Regions from separate parts of the Homo sapiens genome. Here region 2 is linked to region 1. The links are contacts of gene promoters, found by promoter capture Hi-C in blood cells and fetal thymus (Javierre and others, 2016). All regions are on one chromosome and are shown on one strand. The core of a region is centred on a gene start or on the middle of the fragment in contact, and the rest is flanking DNA. Distances in the headings are between cores, read along the strand shown.

Evidence for each region. The method cuts DNA at HindIII sites, captures the fragments that hold promoters and counts their contacts. A CHiCAGO score of 5 or more calls a contact.
Region 2: a contact is called between the fragment with the promoter of MAPK8IP2 here and the fragment with the promoter of KLHDC7B in region 1, in 1 of 17 cell types (endothelial precursors). The highest score is 5.1, in endothelial precursors.

The regions. Positions count from the first base shown.
Region 1 is chr22:50,544,488-50,547,590 of GRCh38, reverse strand. It overlaps KLHDC7B (kelch domain containing 7B), which reads right to left and starts at 1,692. Exons shown (of 1, transcript NM_138433.5): 1 at 1-1,692. The coding sequence starts at 1,347. KLHDC7B-DT (KLHDC7B divergent transcript) reads left to right here. Exons shown (of 4, transcript NR_199716.1): 2 at 1,123-1,217; 3 at 2,196-2,804. RefSeq lists a silencer at 3,077-3,103. The HindIII fragment of the contact is 20,060 bases long and covers 1-3,103 here.
Region 2 is chr22:50,599,161-50,602,263 of GRCh38, reverse strand. It overlaps MAPK8IP2 (mitogen-activated protein kinase 8 interacting protein 2), which reads right to left and starts at 1,471. Exons shown (of 12, transcript NM_012324.6): 1 at 1,381-1,471; 2 at 370-475. The coding sequence starts at 1,445. RefSeq lists an enhancer at 592-1,092 and a silencer at 1,882-2,061. The HindIII fragment of the contact is 20,896 bases long and covers 1-3,103 here.

The DNA.
Region 1 (3,103 bases), core at 443-2,942:
GGTAACCTCCAGGGGCAAAAAGTCTGAAGGAGAGGGGAGAGTCAGGGCTTCAGGTGGGAACCCCGGGCCGGGAGCTGCGGGCGGGGAGGCGGAGCGCGGGCGAGGCTCACGGCTCCGGGAGGGCGCGCGGCTGTGGCCGGCTGCAGCCGGCTTTGCTTGCTCCGGGGGCCGGGTGGGCCCCAGGTCAGCGGCAGGACTGTTATCTCGGGAGCTGTCAGCCCCGGCCTCGCCGGCATCGTAGGCCCCTGTGGCACCCGGCCCTTGGGACGAGAGTGGGCGACCTTGAGGCGGACTCTCTAGCCAGGGGCGCGTGGAGTCTGGGGCTGGGCCAAAGCTCCGGGTGCCCGGGACCTCCCTGCTGACCCAGGGCCAGCCTCCTCCGGGGGCAGGGACCCCCGAGGCCTCCCTGCTCCAGCCACCCTTGGCCCCAGAGCCTTCCGTCTGAGACCCAGGCTGCAGGGCGCGGGGAGCGGGCAGCGCCGGGAGTGCGGGCTCCTGGGCGAGTGGGGGTCCTGTGGGGAGGCCGCGCGCGTGGGCGTCCAGGGCGGCGGCCCCGTCCACCGCGTCCCACACGCTCCCCGCGGCGCCCAGGCGGAGCGGGTCCAGTTTCCGGGGGCGGCGGGCTCTGTCTCCCGAGCCAGCGTCCATCCGCCGCCGCCGGCCCCGGCCTCTCCCCATCGAGCCCGAGGGCCCCGCGCCCGCCTGCCAGGGGCCAGTGTCCTGTTGCCCCGCGGGGCCTGCGGCCTGGCGAGAGGACGCCCTGACACCACCTGTCTCCGCCTCCGCTTCGCTGCCAGGGCTCCGAGGAGTGAAGTGGATCAGGAGGGGGGCGGACATCCCCCCTGCTTCGCTCCTGCCCAGGAGGGCAGTGCCTGGCCTGGGAGGCTCCTTTCCTTCCGCTCGGGGGGCCGCGGGGGTGGCACTGCCCCGTTGCTGTCCTAATGCCTCTCTGCGGGCCTCCTCGACAGCCGTCTTGAGTGGAAGCCGGGCCATGGCGGCCAGGCCCCCGCCCGGCGCTGCAGCAGGGACAGGGCTCTGCTGGCCGCGTCCTGGGGGCTCTGGTTTCCCCTGCCCTGGGCTCTGCCCCTCGCTGCCATCACTGACCTTAGACTTCGGTTGCAGGGCCAGCTCAGCTCCTCCTGCCTGATGAGGTTGAGCCCCGAGGGCTGTGGACACCGGTTCTGCCGCCTCTTGATCGTGCCCGGAGCCAAACCAGTGTAAGGCCAGCGCTGTGGCAGCCACCACAGCCAGCGCCAGGAGGGCCAGCACAGCACTATCCCAGTCATTGTCACTGTCCCAGTCCCAGCCCCAGAGGGGACCATCTGGCTCCAAGGTGCCCTGGATCATGGTTCAGGGCTGCAATAGAGGCCTGATGGCAGGCTGGCAGTGCATGCAGAGCACAGAGGCCTGGGCTGAGGCACCGGCCAGCGCCTGCCCCAAGGGCTGCCCAGTTAAGGTGGACCAGTCCTCCAGGGCCTGGGAATGGTGGGGTCTCTGCTTGCACTCAGGCCTGGGGGTGTCAGTAGGGCCTGGCTGCAGATATCAGGAGACAGCGAGGCTTATGGCAGGATAGGAGCCCAGGGTCTCTGCAAGCACCCCACCAGCTCCTGCCCTCTTCTCCTCCTCGTAGGCCCCAGGGTCCTCAGGCAGCGTTCCTGAGCTCTGTGCTGTCATCACAGCCAACCTGCTTCTGCCTGGTAGACCCTCACACCCCTAAATTTATTCCACACCCCACAGTCCCTCCTCTCAGCCTGGGCCCAGCTTCAGGGGGCTTGGCAGGGAAGGGTTACCCACAGGGAGATGTTATCTCTAGCTCTAGCAATGTGATGTGGCCCTGATGAAATCACCAGAAACCGGAGAGGCTGATTCCACTGTGGGCCAGCAGGGGAGGGGTGGGGGCCGTGCACGGGAGGGTGCAGGCTGTGCCTGACGGTGGTCTCTCAGGCTGAAGAGGGAGACCCTGGACACGGGTCCTGGCAGTGAGCATTATCATTGCAGGGGTGCTGTGGAGGTTTGTACTGGGGCACAGGGAGGGGGCATAGAGAGGAGACTGAGGCTCCCATAGCTCCTCCTCCAGCAGCTTTTGGACTCCTTACTCTGGGTTTACCAGACATGGGATAGGGTTATCAAGTCAAGAGAAAAAAAAAATTAATGGGATAAATAAAATCCAAACATATTTCTCTCTTTATGGCCAGGCTTATTTCAGCCCACCTAGACCTTCTAGGATCTCCTGGACCCCCTGCGCCCATCGAGAGTGTCTTGACTGCCCAGATGAGACTCTCACTGTGCCCCTGGAGAACCCTGAGCCCAGCCTGCCCCCTACTCCAGTTACCGCATCAGCCAGCACCTGGATCCCTTAGAAACCACCCCCCTCTGGCCCCAGGTGCTCTAATAGCCAGACTCTGGGTGTCTTCATCTCAGTCCTCAGCCTTCCCTTATCTGAGCTGAGGACTCGCCCTCGAGACCACATCCTGGCTGGTACCTCCTAGCCCTGGCTCAGGCCGGCATGTAGGTACTTCTGTTGGATGTGAGCACTTGCTTCCTGAGGGAGAAGCCTGGGCTCCTCCACCTGCTCCTTGCTTAATCCCATCTCAGGAGTGTCTCGGGCCAGGTGCCAGGTGAGGCTCAGACAAGAAAAAGAGCCTGGAGTCCCTGGGACAAAGGCAGGGCTCCCTGGAAAGTACCGTGTGTATTTTTCCTTCCTCTGGGACACAGCAGGCCTGGGGATTTCTCCCTTACTCAAGCAGCAAGGAGATGGCCTAGGAGTGTCCCTGGCACCCAGCCTGAACCCTACTGAGCCTCAGGTAACTCACCTCCCAGCTCCCCCTGGGACTATTAGATGACAGGGAGAGGGTGAGGGTGGGCCCCATGCCTTAAGGTGGACCTCAAGTTGAGGGAAGGCTTTCTAGACCGTGCCCTTATTCTCTGTCCCAGTCTCAGGCTCTGCCTCTTGGTTAAGTTTGGGGTCCAGAAACCTTCAGAGGATGGAGATGACACCCATAAATATTAGAGACTGAGTAGGGGGCGGGAAGCGGTGGCGGCAGCGCACCCCCGGGGTGCAACTGCCCTGGAACTCCAAGTGGTGGCTTCAAAACTGGATTAA
Region 2 (3,103 bases), core at 222-2,721, 55 kb before region 1:
CTGCAGACGAGGGCACAGGGCTGCAGAGGGGACAAGGTTGTGATGGCAGCTGCCAGGGATTAGATCTTTCTGGGAGTGATCTGAGGACAGAGGGCACCCAAAGCAAAGGAGCACCTCCCTGCCCCGGGCTGGCCACCGATGGGGTCGGGGAGAATGCTGGGGAAGGCCCTGCGTGGAGGCCTGCAATGTGTTGGAATAAGAGAGAGTTGATACCAAGGAAACCTCAAGGGTTAAGTGGGGAGGAGCCATCAGAGGAGTCCCCGGTTCAAGGCTGAGCTCACACCCACCCTAAAACCCCAAGTGAACGCTAAGAAGAACCTAATGAGGCCCTCCCTTGAGCTGGATCTGTGTCCCCAACTCTTCTCCCACCTTCTCACAGTGGTCTGAGTCGTAGCTGAGGCCCAGGCCACAGTCATCAGTGATCTCAGACAGATCTTCGTCGTCAAATTCTTCCAGGCTTATGTCCTGGGGAGGCCTGGAAAGGAGACCAGGGTCAGAGAGCCACCAACCCTGGACTCCCTGCCTGGCAACTGGCCCTGAGGAGGGGCAGAGGGAGGCGTCAGCTCCTACACCCAGTGGTTTCCACAGCCCCCAGCTCTCGGAACACATCCTGCCATCATCTTGACCCCCAAGCTCTGCTCGCCTGTGGATCCCCTCCCCCATCTGAGCCAGGCCTGCCCGGAGGAGCCAACCCTGCCCCCACCCCTCCCACCCCGCCTCCCTGGAGAGCCAGCAGCCTCTCCTCCCTCCACTCGCAGCTCCAGGCCCCTGGGGTCAGGGTCTTGCAGAGCAGGGGAGGGGGAGCTGCAACGCGGCAGCGGCAGATGGGGAGGGGTCGCTCCTGCTCTGGGAAGAGAGTCTGGCCTGTTTGTCTCCCCCTCTCCGGCGGAGTGAGGCCTAAACCCAGAGGCCCAGCGTCCTCCCAACCCCAGTCCCTTCCCGCAGGGCTCCGGGCTTGATTTCCACTCTCTCCCGGCCGGGCCCTATCGGCCAGGTCTGGCGTCCACTGAAAGAGGCCAAGGCCACCGGGACACGCCGCGCCGGGAGGGTGTGCCCGCATCCCGCCCGCATCCTCCCCCGCAGAGGGTCGGCCCAGGGCCTCCACCCTTGACAGGTCAGCCGTCCAGGCCGGGCGCGGCTCAGAATCCCGGCGGGGCCCGGGGGTCACTGAGGCTGGGGACGCGCGGTGAAGATGGAGGGAGTGGGAGCGGGGTGGGGGTGGGGCGCCCGAGCCGAGGCTCAGGGACCGCAGGGGGCCGGGGCCGGGTCCGCGCCGGCGGCGGGGCTGGGGCGGCGGGGACGGGGGTCCGGGCCGGGTCGGGGTCGGGGGGGTGCGCAGGGAGCGGAGGGTCCGCCCGGCCCGGGCGCCGAGGGGGGTACCTGCAGCCCGGCGGCGACAGCGAGTGGAAGGTGGAGAGAGAAAACATCTCCGCGCGATCCGCCATCTTCTCCGGGAGAGGCCCGCGACTGCGGCGGGGGGTGCGGGAGCCTCGCCGCGCCCCGCGCCGGCGCTCGGCCCGCCCCGCTCACCTCGTGACACGCCCTGCGGCGTCCGCCCCGCGCACCTCGCCCGGACTCCGCGGCGGCGCGGGGAGGGCGGCGGGGGAGGCGGGGGAGGGACGCGGCCGGGGACGCTGGTTGGAGGAGAGGCGGCGGCTTCACTGCCGGGCGCTGGTTGGGGAAGGGCCGGGCGTGCGATGAGGATTTTTCCCGGGGAGGGGCGGGAGGGAAGGGGCGGGCGGGTGGGCGTCGGGCCCCGCCCTGGAGGACCCGCGCGGGGCGGGAGGCCGAGGAGGCAGCGCCGGGGTCCGCGGGCCTCGGGTTCGCCGTGGGCTGTTTCCTCTGGGCGAGAGGCCGGGGCGGCCCCGGGAGCTGCGCCGCCGCGCCCAGGATCCCCCCAGGAACCCTAACCCGGGTGCGGCCCGGAGCGGGGTGGCGGGCGAGGCGGGAGGCGCGGGAGGAGCTGTCCGCCGTCGGGTGCTGATCGGAGCTGTCCCCACGGGGTGCTGACCGGGGCTGCACGGGGACGTCTGCACGAGGGTCGCCGAGCAGGGCTGGATTCAGAATCGAGCACAAGGTACTCAGAGGATGCTGGCTGGGGCTAAAAGTGGACTTTGAGCACTCAGTAGAGACTGCACAGCCGGACGGACGTACCGACGGGCACTGGGAGAAGTTAGCACCCACGGAGGCGACATGCGTCCCACTGGAAACACTTTTTCTTGGGCACCGTGTTGCTGGGCCCTGTGTAGGGAACTGACCCGCTCTGGCTTGGGATGGAGCCCTGTGGGGAGGGCCATGGTTGAAGCTGAGCTCGAGACGGTGGCTGTGGGAGGAGGCGGGAGATCAGGGTTGAGGGCGCAGAACTAGGGAGAGACTGCAGGACACTTTTTTTCTTTCTAAAATAGAGACCGGTGGCTGGGCGCGGTGGCTCACGCCTGCAATCCCACCACTTTGAGAGGCCAAGGCGGGTGGATCACGACGTCAAGAGATCGAGACCAGAGACCATCCTGGCCAACATGGTGAAACCCCGTCTTTACTAAAAATACAAAAAAATTAGCCGGGCGTGGTGGCGGGCGCCTGTAGTCCCGGCGACTTGGGAGGCTGAGCCAGGAGAATCATTTGAACCCGGGAAGCGGAGGTTGCAGTGAGACGAGATTGCGCCACTGCACTCCAGCCTGGCAAGAGCAAGACTCCGTCTCAAAAAAAAAAAAAGAGAGAGAGAGAGACCGGCTCTCTCTGTATTGCCCAGGTTGGTCTCAAACTCCTGGGCTCAGCTATCCTCTGGCCTCAGCCTCCCAAAGTGCTGGGATTACAGGTGTGAACCACAGCACCTGGCTAAATATTGGCTAAAGAAGGAGGCTGGCATTTCAACAAAAGCGCAATCCCTTTTCCCCCTTGATGAAAGTTATGTGCCCTAAGATTTCTTTATGTCTTAGTTCTGCGGAAAATTCTTTTTTTTTTTTTTTTTTTTTTTTTTTTTTTTTTTTTTGAGACAGAACTTGCTCTGTTGCCCAGGCTGGAGTGTAGTGGCACGATCTCAGCTCACTGTAACCTCCACCTCCCGGGTTCAACCGATTCTCGTGCCTCAGCCTCCCGAGTAGCT